Regions from separate parts of the Homo sapiens genome. Here region 2 is linked to region 1. Evidence: promoter capture Hi-C in 16 types of primary human blood cells and fetal thymus (Javierre and others, 2016). All regions are on one chromosome and are shown on one strand. Each heading gives the region's core, a stretch centred on a gene start or on the middle of the fragment in contact. The rest is flanking DNA. Distances are from core to core; before and after follow the strand shown.

Region 1 (6,111 bases), core at 3,612-6,111:
TGTTGTTCATTCCCTAGCACTTCTAGCACACAGACTTCCAGTTGTATGTGATGAAGTGGTGAGCCAGGGACATCATCTTTCTGACGATGAGTTAAAGACTAAACAAGTATTATTTTACTGCATGCTATAAAAGGATAACACTATGCACAGGGTCTGTGCACAGGATTAGACTATGCACGGATAAAATGTTTCATTCAAAAGTACCCATATTTTCTACCAAGAAAGCTGAAGATGAGAGCCCCTTCTCTCCTTTTCCCACACCCAGAAAGCCAGTGTACTAACATATGATGAAAATTCTGAAAACTAGATATTCCCAACAAGGATTTTGAATCTTGAGCAAGTGATCCAAAGCAAAGGGAGGATTCAAAGTTGTTCTTAAGAGTTAGACACTTCCTGCTACTGCTTATGCCTCCGTGTTTTCTGGCCTTGGTTAGTCGTAGTCTCCCAGCTTCCTGCTGATTCTGTGATTCTGTGGGCTCCCAATTTTCTTTCAAGAATTTCCTTTTTTTTTTTTTTTTTGAGACTGTGTGTCATTCTGTTACCCAGGCTGGAGTACAGTGATGTAATTTCAGCTCATCGCAACCTCCACCTCCAGGGTTTAAGCAATTCTCATGCCTCAGCCTCTCACATAGCTGGGGCTACATGTGTGTGCCACCATGCCAGGCTAATTTTACATTTTTAGTAGAGACGGGTTTTGCCATGTTGGCCAGGCTGGTCTCGAACTCCTGACCTCAGGTGATTCTCCTGCCTTGGCCTCCCAAAGTGCTGGGATTACAGGTGTGAGCCACCACACCCAGCCAATAGTTTCCTTTTTTACTTAGAACAGCCATAATCTGACTCTTTACTTGAAACTAGAAGTCATCACAATATGAGATAATTGAGGAGAATCAGAGCTCTGATTTCTGCCTGCTCATGAATTCCCTTGAAAAAGTGAGGTTGGTTTCTTTGCCAGTCTTTGTCTCAGTTTCCACATTTGTAAAATGGGGCTAGCTCTGTAGCATGCTTCGAGGAAAATTAATCTGTGAGATGTTCTCTCATACAGGTTTCTTCCTTTGGAGAATCTAATGGCATGCTGCTCTATTGAGTTTCCGGAAATTCCTCTAGTAAGGGATTTAATTTGACTTTAATTCAGCATTTCCCAAGCTTAATCATGGAAGTCTTGTTTCAGAAAACATTAATATCTCACAGATTGAGTCATCCATAAACTATCTTGGCAAGAGACACTGGCTCCAGCAGTTCATTTTTCTTTGAATTTGCACCTGACACTGATCTCTGTTATTAAACACTCATGAGGCCTTTAAGGAGTCTCTGTATTAACCCATTAAAGTAGGAAGTTCTTAAACTTCAGAGCATATAAAAACCATTTGAGGACCTTGGTATAATGCAGATTGCTGAGCACCATACAAGATCTACTAATTCAGAATCTCCTGGAATAGAGACAAGGAATTAGAACTCAGAATTACTCTATGGGGGATTGTGTTGTATGCAGTCTTCAGTCTACAGTATGAGAAACACTGTCTTATGTAACAATTCAGTGAAAAATACCTTCAAGCAATTTATGTACTTTATCATTAGAAGAAGCTAGAGGTCATAGTCACAATAATATATCTCACTGGTCTGACCATTAATCATCTTCTGAGATGTCTCAGGCAAGCTTATAGATAACTTGTGAATACCCACCCAAAACGTACTGAATGGCTCTGATCCCAACTTCAAAAAGATGTAACATTAAAATTCAAATGTGTCTGTAGGTGCCACTATGAGATCAATAATTTGGGCACATCTAGTTAAAGTGTGAATAGCCACAGCTGTATGTGGTGTCTTACACCTATAATCCCAGCTACACAGAAGGCTGAGGTGGGAGGATAGCTTGAGTTCAAACTTGAACCAGGAGTTCAAGGCCAGTTTGGGCAACATAGTGAGATAGCAAGATTCCATTTCTTAAAAAACAGTCTGAGTGTCTCCCTCACTCCTGCTACCTATCTATAGCTTATTCATTCTCACCATAAACTCACTTAGTGAGAAATCAAGGTTAAAGGAGTAGGGAAGAAATTTAAGTAATTTAATTTTATGACTTTTTAGTAACTCAGCTCAAAGACTCTAATGATAGGAAGCCTGGAATGAATAACTAAAATGTTATTTTTAGACTATCTGTGAATTTCATTTCCTCTCATTACCACAAATGATGAAAAATTAGCTGTCAGAAATTTCAAAGCAATATAGCAGAACATGATGGAAAAACAAATTAATCAAGTCACCATCTTCCGAAACATTTTTCCTTTATTAGAATTCTTCAGGTAATATGACGAAGATAACAATACTGCATTTCTTTAAAATATGCTGTACATTTCCTCATAGGAAAAAGGGTGAGTTATGGTGACCAGTGACATTAACTGGAAACAAGCAAACTTTTGGTTCCTGGGCCACTAGTTGTATTTACTTTAAGAAAACCCTAAAGATGATTTGCAGTCTTTCAGAGAGTTTACTTTTATGTTTACAGCCCAAAATGTGCAGATAACTTGTTTGTAAATAACTGGCAGGGGTCACAGTGTCACATCTAGGAGATTTCATTTTATTTTATTTCGACAACCAGAGTTACAGCCTCTTTACAACTGAGAAGTGGTAATAAATGGTATTGTGCTTATTCTTCAACAACTCCATAGCACTGGCACCTGACATATATTTGCATGAATTTCATGTAACAAAATGTAGAAATCTTTCTTTCTAAAGGGCTTCAAAATTTCCCGAAACAGACTTCTGAACTTCATTTTATTCCTCTTGCTACATGGTTGTTCTGGATTAGTATATATATCAACACCTAAAAACAGAGTTACAAAAATTAGTGCATACCTCATCAATTTCATAAAGTTACATCCTTTCTTGTTTGCATACATTTATATTTTATTTATTACTGTAACTGCCACTTACAACCCAGCAACAAAGAGTTGTATTTTAGAATATTATGGAATGGTGATATGATAGACACTTTAAAGTGTATTGACATGTCCTTATGGGAATTAGGGATTTAATTTTTTTTTTTTTTGATTGAAGCACTGCATGTCTCAAGGGTGGCTGCATTCAGTAGGTCTGTGACATAACCCCTGGAAAATACCCAGGCTGCCCAATGGAAGAGTCACTAATCAGATATTGAATATGATATTTTTGTGTTCAAATTTTCAAGTCCTCACACCCATCCTAACTAATTTTTAGGCCTTTCCTTTAAGACAACCAAAAAACAAAACTATAACTGTTCAAACTTGGAACTAAGGAAAGGAAATAAATATTAAAGCGGAGCTGGATTTATTTCTATTTATTTAGAGTACATCACCTCCAGTAGAATTATGTTGCTAAGGTTGGGATCACGGCTTTGGTCTCGCGAAGGGACCTGCTTTGCAGATCCAGGGCTCGTTTAATTTTCCAGCTGGGTTCCTGCTTTGCTTAACTAATCCTGTGCACCCCGTTGTGCGGTCCACACCTGAAAGGGGGAGTTTCGATGTTGTGGTTTATTAACCAGGTACTTTCCATTCACTCAGTCAACAGAAAGAAAGAGAGAGACCGCGCCTCCTACTTTTTTTTTTTTTTTTTTTTTAACTACAAATAAGGAGACGGAAACTATTAAATAAGAAGGGGGGAAACTCCCGCATATTTCACCTTGACCTGGCTGGACTGGTCTGCTGCCTCTAAGAGGCGGGTGTTGTATTAAAATGAGAGGTCAAACTCCTCGAATGGGAATCGCTCCTGCCCCTAGAGGGAAAAGAGAACCATCACCGTGTTAAACTGGAAACACTGCCTTGTTTCCAATGCGGGGGACTGAGTTCCCTCCCTCGACTTAGCGTGGTAATGACAGGACCCGAGGAGGCGCGCTGCTTCCGGGCAGTTGCCCAGCATAACACCCGCACCCTACTTGCACCTAAATTTCTGAGCTGCAAGCAGGCAGAAGTGCCTTCCACTTTCTCTCCTTAGCTCCCCTCTCCCCGCTTTGCTGCTGTCTGTAACTTTTTGTTCCGTTTACTGGGAAGGTGACGCTTAAGATCAAAAGACCCACTGTAACTTGCAAAAGCCCAGAGCCACCACCAGACGCTGGGGAAAAACAGGGCTGTCCAGTCCAGGGTTAAGGTTTTGAGCAGAGAAGGAGCAGCGAGAAATCTCGGCCAGTCGCTCCGGGAACAGCCCCTGCAGACTGGTCCAACTCTCCAAAGGCTAGGGACACCGGGGCAGCCTTGTGGTGGGGTAGAGGACGAGCTCCTAACTGCAAGCAAAGTGCTGAGTAGAGGGCGTTGGGGGCAGGGGAGGTCCCTTGACTCCACTTTGTATGCAGCAGCTGCGGGGCAGTGAGTATCTCCGAACAAAGCGGCGAGCAGCGCGGGGGTGAGAGATTGGGGTTTGCTCGCAGCTGCCGCTGGCGCTGAGCGAGTCTCCCACCACCCCCGCGAGCGTTGGGGTGCAAGGATTCGGGGGAGGAGGGAGAAGGGAACGAGGCGTGCCATTCCTGTTGCGCGGCTACGCTTCAGGAGTTCTTGTGAACGATGGGAATGGCAACTATCAGAGCCAAGGGGGAAAAGAAAGAGCTGGAGTGAGCAAAACAAAGAGCGAGTGTGGGCCGCGGTGACTTCATGCCTCACCAATGTCCCGCCCACGCTGCTCCGAGCTGTTACTGCTGCTCCTGCCCGGGCTGCAGCCGCGCCTGCGGGCAGCCGAGGCGAGGCGCTCCGGTAGCGTGGGGAGGTTTCCTAGCAACTCTCTGCCCTGAGTGCACCCGGCTACCCGCAGGTCTGGAGCCCCCCGGGGGGCCAGAGCAGGACCACCCCTCTCCCGCCCATCGCCGGCCTCGCCTCTCTCGCATCCTAGCCGTGTGCACCCCAGAGCGCGCCAGCAACTCGGGCTCTGGACTGCGGGACGCCTGAGCCGCGCACTGAGGCGAAAAGGACAAGGGCACGCAGCCCCCGCCCCGCGAAGCCGGGCTCCGGCACCTCGCGGAACCTCCCCTCCTGCGCTCGCAGCCGCAGGCCCCACTCCCCGCCAGGGAGGGAGCGGCGATGCCTCGCTCTGTGCCTGCGGGTGTCGGCGGGTGCTTCTAGGGCGCTCCCAGAGCCGCCTCCCCCTGTTGCTGGCATCCCGAGCTTCCTCCCTTGCCAGCCAGGACGCTGCCGACTTGTCTTTGCCCGCTGCTCCGCAGACGGGGCTGCAAAGCTGCAACTAATGGTGTTGGCCTCCCTGCCCACCTGTGGAAGCAACTGCGCTGATTGATGCGCCACAGACTTTTTTCCCCTCGACCTCGCCGGCGTCCCCTCCCACAGATCCAGCATCACCCAGTGAATGTACATTAGGGTGGTTTCCCCCCCAGCTTCGGGCTTTGTTTGGGTTTGATTGTGTTTGGCTCTTCGCTAAGCTGATTTATGCAGCAGAAGCCCCACCGGCTGGAGAGAAACAAAAGCTCTTTTCTTTGTCCCGGAGCAGGCTGCGGAGCCCTTGCAGAGCCCTCTCTCCAGTCGCCGCCGGGGCCCTTGGCCGTCGAAGGAGGTGCTTCTCGCGGAGACCGCGGGACCCGCCGTGCCGAGCCGGGAGGGCCGCAGGGGCCCTGAGATGCCGAGCGGTGCCCGGGCCCGCTTACCTGCACCGCTTGCTCCGAGCCGCGGGGTCCGCCTGCTAGGCCTGCGGAAAACGTCCTAGCGACACTCGGCCCGCGGGCCCCGAGGTGCGCCCGGGAGGCGCGAGCCCGCGTCCGGAAGGCAGTCAGGCGGCGGGCGCGGGGCGGGCTGTTTTGCATTATGTGCGGCTCGGCCCTGGCTTTTTTTACCGCTGCATTTGTCTGCCTGCAAAACGACCGGCGAGGTCCCGCCTCGTTCCTCTGGGCAGCCTGGGTGTTTTCACTTGTTCTTGGACTGGGCCAAGGTGGTAAGTTGTTTTGTTTTGTTTTGTTTTCTTCTCTTCCCCAAAGGTCTTGGGCTGGCACGAAGAGCTGCCCGGCCAGAGCATCCCGGCCAGGTAAGTTGCGGTCATCAGAGAACTTCAAGGGGGCGGGTGCGGGGCAGCGTCCTCCAGCACAGATGGCCTAGAGGCCAGGTGTCAAGCATTTCTGCCCTGGAGCGACAGCAAGGACTAATTATCAGA
Region 2 (6,552 bases), core at 1,265-3,764, 600 kb before region 1:
CCCATGTCTTTGCTGATGTCATTCTGATTAATTCTTTAAAGGCATGACACCTCATTAACATGTGTTAACAAAACAATCTTATCCAGGAATTAAAATGTTTAAATCTGTAACCATATACTATTTTCAAATTTCACCAGGTTGGAGACTCTAGACTGCAGATATATTTGGAGTGAAATTTTTTTTTAATTTCATTAAAATGTAGAAAATATTGATAGTTAAATGCCATCAATGGGGACCTTAGAAAGTACACAGGATAATGTACCTTCTAATAGTAGGTACAGCTACCACCTGGGCGGTAGTTTCTTAAAAAAATCAGATTTCATCATTTTTTTCCTTGTAATTTATAAGAGAAAGACAGAGAAGTGCCACTATTGCCTTTGTATAAAACAACAACAACAAAAAGCCTCTTCCTTCCTTTTTTATTTTTTCCTTCCCTCCCTCCTCTTTCTTTCTCTCTCTCTTTTTTCTCTTTCTCTTTCCTTTTGTCATGCTTCCTTGCTTGTTTACTTGCTTTCTCCCAAGGAGTTGTTCCTACATAGTCATAAAGAGTCTTCGTAGAGGAAGGGCATAAGGAGAATGAAGACCATGTGTAAAAAATGATGGGAGAATCATAAATGCAAGTTACAAGCCTGAAAAAATACATTTTTTTCTAAAGGTTTCATTTTTCCCTTTATGTAATTTTTAAAAATTACATCTAAAATTGCTGTCTAAAGCAGTGAGGGCTTTAGCCTTTTTGCCATAATAGATGTTCTCACGAAGAAAGATGTGATTAGAAAAAGGGGTCAAATAAAAATAACTGCAATGCTTCCCATTCCCTGATCTGCTCAGATAACTGGCCTCACCTTGGAAAACTCTCTTTAGGCTCAAAGGGTACTTCCTAGGGTCCCTGTGTAGTATTAATTTTGCCAATTTGTGTCTATGTTCTTTCCCATAATACTTGGTAAAATAAACCACACTTTTTCCTTATTTCCAAACCCTTATGAAAAATCATGAAAGGCGATGGGGAATCCACACTTCAGCATGCAGTGTGGCTCATCCAGCCAATATCAGAGCTAACTGGGAGTGTGTTCCATACCCCAGAAACCCACTATAGTACCATAAAACATCTGAAAACACTTATGTGTGCATTCACAGTAATAAAAGAAAATAAAATAAATCTCTGAGAATTAAACTGTAACCATAGCAACACAGCTGTCTTGCTGCTTCGCAAAACTTGCTTCACAGTCAAAGAAAGCCAATAATCCTTAGGCCCAGTTCCATATTTAAATGGTTACATTTCTCATGGGCTGAAGCTTTATCTACTTGAGCTTACTGAAGGATTCAGGCGATTGTCTGGCAGTCTCCAGATTGGAAAACTAGAGACTGTCATCCGTAGCAGTCATTAAAGGTTGCATATTCAGATATTTAAAGAGTTTATTAAAGTTTTTTTACATCGGTGGGCTTTTGTCATAGTTTCTAATAATTTTGATGGTTTTCTTTGAAAACAGAAAAGGCAGGATTTATTTGTCAGTTTTTTTTTTTTTTGCCTCAAACTAGCAATATTCAGTATATGAAAGCTGGCTAGCCATCATTTCTATTTTAGAATTTTACGTTTCATACACCTCAATGCACAATACAAACAAATCAAACACTTACGACAAGTCCTGATTTTTTTTTGGCACACAATATTCCACAAATGCCACAAAGAAGAAACTGAAAAGGAAAAGAAGAACAATTACTCCTTATCCAAAGACACGAGGACCCCTAGATTTTAGCTTGTAGTTCACTCATGACACTTTCTCCAGGGAAGATAGAACATTTTAAATTTCCTTCAAAACCTGGAGAGGATAAGATCTCATTCTAGAATAGTAAAGGATAAAAGTATAAACCCTAATAAAAATTTATTTTTTGCTAGATTGTTAGAGGTAATTGAATCAGTTTTAGCATCAGGTAAAATTATTAAGTAAATGAATTTAGAGCTTTGTTTCTCCCATTTCTTTTCACCGTCTGATTCCTTTCTACTTTCTCAGGGAGAAAAGTGGTGTGATACATTCATTCACACTTAACAACTAGAAATCAGTAAGTTATACTACAGGAAAGAATCTGCACAAATCAAAAGATAATGCATCAGACAAGGAGATGATTCTCTATAGAGATACTCTTTGTACCACTCCAATTGGTACAATGACAACCTCCTTATTCTACAAGAAACTGGCCTTATGGATATGTCAGAAGAACACAAAGAGATAGGCTGGGCGCGGTGGCTCACACCTGTAATCCCAGTACTTTGGGAGGTCATGGTGGACGGATCACAAGGTCAGGAGATCGAGACCATCCTGGCTAACACGGTGAAACCCCGTCTCTACTAAAAATACAAAAAATTAGCCGGGCGTGGTGGCAGGCGCCTATGATCCCAGCTATTCCGGAGGCTGAGGCAGGAGAATGGCGTGAACCTGGGAGGCGAGGCTTGCAGTGAGCCAAGATCGCGCCACTGCATTCCAGCCTGGGTGACGGAGCAAGACTCCGTCTCAAAAAAGAAAAAAAAAAAAAAGAACACAAAGGGATAAAGCAATTGATAGCATATTATTTCTTGTAAATAAAACATTGTTGACATAATTGCTTTGCAAAGGCAGTCACATCAGATTATCTACCAAGGAGAGACTATTAGATATTTTAGTAATCATAAAATGATAAATAGTTTAATTTGAATAGAAACAGTTCCATTTGAATGCAAGTTTTCACATACTTCTAACTTGAAATAGCTATATAAAATATTCATTAAGAAGTAAGAAGTCCACTAAAGGACTTCAGATTTGTAAAGAAAATTTTTATTCGCAAAGAGAACTAGTTTTCACTGTTGTCGTTGTTGTTTAATTATCTGAAGTCAGAACTAACAATATAGCTTGTTTCACTAAATATTTGACACCTGGATAGATTTATTTCCAAATACATATCAAAATATACTAAGGATTATCTGAGATAATATGCATGTGAGAAGTACCAAGAAAATCTGTTAAAAAGCAATAAGTAAGGGAAGTTGTTGCAAAGAAACTTTTCCTATAAGGGAGCAGAATGATTATTATGCAGGCAGTGGGGCAGCAAGAAGAAATAGGGAACACAGAATATATAAGAATTTGGTATATAATTTAGATGACCTTTCATATTAATGGAAAGGAAAGGATTATTTGCCCAATAAATAGAGCTAGAATAATGTGTTAACGTTCCCTAACATACACCAAAATTAATGTAAAATTGAGTATTTATACAAAAATGCTTAAATGCATTGGGAGACAACAAAGTTAAATATTTATATAATTTTAGAGGACTGGAAAGGATTTTCTAAATGTAGCACCAAAGTAATAAACCAAAGTAGAAAGTATTTATTAATAGAAAAAATTTAATTTTGACGGTCAAAAACATAACACTCAAAGGCAAAAAATGTTGGGATTATATTCGGAAAGTATATGATAGCCAAATAGTTAACATACTTTAGAAATAGATCTAATAAAATATTTTTAGTATTATAAAACCATGAGAAGATAGAAACTCAGAACTTTATAAAACCTGAATACTTGCATAATTTTCAGTAGCCTTAAAAAGCTATTTCAGAGTGACCGTTTCTCACCACCCACTGTGTCCTAAGTGTAGATGATCATGTCCTCTTATGGACTCTTTCTGTTACTAATTTCATCTCACATTTTTGAAGGCAGTGCTCAAGAAATTCCAGTTTGGACCAATTCTGTACCTTTCAGTGCTTCAAGCTTCAGATCAAAGCTCAAGCATACTCTTCTCCTTAAGTTTCCCTGACTACCCCATTTTCATCCTGAAAGTCCCATTTATCCAGAACTCATTCGAAAAGAATTTGAAAGCAGTGTAGTTTTGTGTTCCTTGCATCTGTTTTGAAATCTGTAAACACTGCCATTATTCATTTACAGTAAAGCCCAAGAGGTGGTCAGGAGCATAAGCAGAGTTCTCCATCCAACCATTTGGTTAGAACATCTAGGTGGCAATAAATTTGCTATTTTGTATTATCTCACTTCAATTGGATGGAGCTAAGAAATGTGAATTCAAGGATTGGGAGAGGGAAGGGAGAGTAGGGGAGGAATCAATCAATATTTTTTCTACTTTCAGCAGATGAATGTAAATACTCTCCAACTGTTACTTCTGTTAGAGTATCCAAAATCACATGTCCTAGAGAAAAGCTGTAACCTGAGAAAAAGTGGACACATGTAACAGGAAGTATATGAAATCATGGGATTTATGAGGAGGATCTAAAAGATCTTGGTTGAAATTTAGCCACCACAGTTTATAGAAAAGAGAAAAAGAGGCCCCCAAAGTAGTAAATTGATATTTTATTTCATTGGCTATCTTTATTTACCACAAGTCATAATACTGGAAGAGATCTTAAAAGATGATTTAATTAATCCCTCGAAGTTTACACGTGGGGACATGGTCCAGAGAGGTCCAGAGAGTTAGTGACTTGCTCAAGGTAACACATCAAGGTCAGAAATCACACATCTAATTTAAGACTTTATTAAGTGTCTAAATTAATTTGTTTTTAATAATGGGCTGGGCATGGTGGCTCACACCTGTAACCCCAGCATGTTGGGAGGCTGAGGTGGGCGGATCACAAGGTCAGGAGTTTGAGACCAGCCTGGCCAATATGGTGAAACTCCGTCTCTACTAAAAATACAAAAATTAGCCGGGCGTGGTTGCAGTCACCTGTAGTCGCAGCTACTCTGGAGGGGGAGGCAGCAGAATCACTTGAACCCAGGAGGCGGAGCTTGCAGTGAGCCGAGATCGCATCACTGCACTCCAGCCTGGGTGACAGATCAAGACTCCATCTCAAAAAAAAAAAACAAAAAAAAAAAAAACGGAATGGAAGTGATTTTTAGAGTTTTTTTTTTTTGTGTGTGTTAGTTCAGTGTAGGTTATACTAGCAAATCCAACTAGAAGTGTTCAATGAATACCTACTCACCTACAACTGCAAGACCATTGTTAATTTATGATATAACTTCTGATGTAATCAAAATAATAAGAACATCAGTCAATTGTGTTACATTCTAAAATTAAATGCATCTTATTTTATAAAGGAATTTGTTATAATATTTCAAAATACACTTTCTTTTGTTCAACATAACTTTATCCAGGATGCAAAGCACTTACCCACATCATGGCAATTATTAAGCAAGTAAAAAACAAATTAGCTAAAAAAGTAAAGCTGATAGCTGTATGTATGTGCATATGTGTAAAGCCTGAACCATGAGAAAATATGATTTTATTTGTGAGAAGATGGGATGTTTAAATCCAGGGAGGATTATTTGCGTTGATCTTACTGTGAAATGATATAAATGTAGCAATCTAATGATAAGGCATCTAGTGCTACACAATAAAATAAAATTAGTTCATCCTCCAAGCGAACTTCATTTGATTCCAATTTAGATTATATTCAATAGAAAACTAAGATTGTGACGTGTTGGACGAAATGACATGATTATGAAGACAGTATTTTACACTTTGAGTGGATTTTCTTTATGTAAAGTCCTTGGAGGTTTCTGCTTTTGCTTAGGACACAGAAAGATGCAAAGATGTCATTTCCACTCTTACAGTAAGGAAATGATATTTTAGAGCCCATCAGAGAGCTGGTTGAGATTCCAAGACAATGAGATAACTTCAATTCAAAGAGGGAAATCTTCTCCAAGAAAGGTCTGACACTATGTCACCTGTTGCAGAGTAAGGGAGGAAGAGACACTGGTCATCACACATTTGTTTGTGTTGAGGGAGGTGTAAAGCCCTGCTCCTTCCCTAGACCTTCTTTTTTATGAAGCAAAAGGCTTAGGCTTCTGGCAGAAGGGTAGCAAAGCTTCTCATTTCCAGGGCCTATTCAAATATAGATTGCCACTCTAACTGGAGGAAAAGTAGAAGATCCTTTTTTAAAAAAAAAAAAAAATACAGAGGGAGAGGCAGGAATTCATCTTGGGCCTGGCATCCTATGCCTATACGAAGTAGAGGACATTGACCATTGGAGAAGAGGCAGGAGCCTCTCGCCCAAGATCAACCCCAGATATAAGGCTAAGTTTAATTGTCTCAGGAAGGAAGGTACAGAATACTGAGAAAGCCCCACACCTGAGATCAGGCGCACAAGGACTTCCTAAACTGAAACTGGTTGACAACAACAAAACACTTTCTCCTTCAGCCCCACCTTCACTCACCATGAGTTAGCAGTTGGGAGTAACAACTGACAGCAGTCTACCAATGAGGGGGAGACAACAGCATGGGAGGATACCCTCCACCCCAACCCTGTGATGAAGATGAACAGGGGCTCAAGCTGAAGGTGGGGCACTCACATCAAAAAAAATTTCCAGCACATAAGCACAAGGCAACTACAGCCCACCACTAGAGGAATGTGAAGACTATTTTGCACCACAGATAATCACAGCCAAACAACATTTAGTTCCTGACACCAGACTGACTCCACTTCTCACACTAACAGCCTAAAAGTAGATATTAAGATAAAATACAAAATACTGAAAAAAAATGACTTTCAAACTTTTCAATGTATATCCAGCCAAA

Evidence for each region. The method cuts DNA at HindIII sites, captures the fragments that hold promoters and counts their contacts. A CHiCAGO score of 5 or more calls a contact.
Region 2: a fragment that was not itself captured here is called in contact with the fragment with the promoter of ITGB8 in region 1 in 1 of 17 cell types (total B cells); the score reaches 5.6 in total B cells.

The regions. Positions count from the first base shown.
Region 1 is chr7:20,326,039-20,332,149 of GRCh38, forward strand. It overlaps ITGB8 (integrin subunit beta 8), which reads left to right and starts at 4,862. Exons shown (of 14, transcript NM_002214.3): 1 at 4,862-5,895. The coding sequence starts at 5,769. It overlaps ITGB8-AS1 (ITGB8 antisense RNA 1), which reads right to left and starts at 5,724. Exons shown (of 3, transcript NR_110120.1): 1 at 5,612-5,724; 2 at 3,329-3,475; 3 at 2,263-2,818. RefSeq lists enhancers at 3,483-4,095, 4,183-4,252, 4,353-4,642 and silencers at 4,723-5,112, 5,583-5,822. The HindIII fragment of the contact is 8,395 bases long and covers 1,653-6,111 here.
Region 2 is chr7:19,727,747-19,734,298 of GRCh38, forward strand. It overlaps TMEM196 (transmembrane protein 196), which reads right to left. Exons shown (of 5, transcript NM_001363562.2): 2 at 1,636-1,692. The region is part of intron 1 of LOC107986774 (a long non-coding RNA gene); the gene reads left to right. Among named protein-coding and RNA genes, the nearest start is that of POLR1F, 22 kb to the left of the region's middle. The HindIII fragment of the contact is 2,448 bases long and covers 1,291-3,738 here.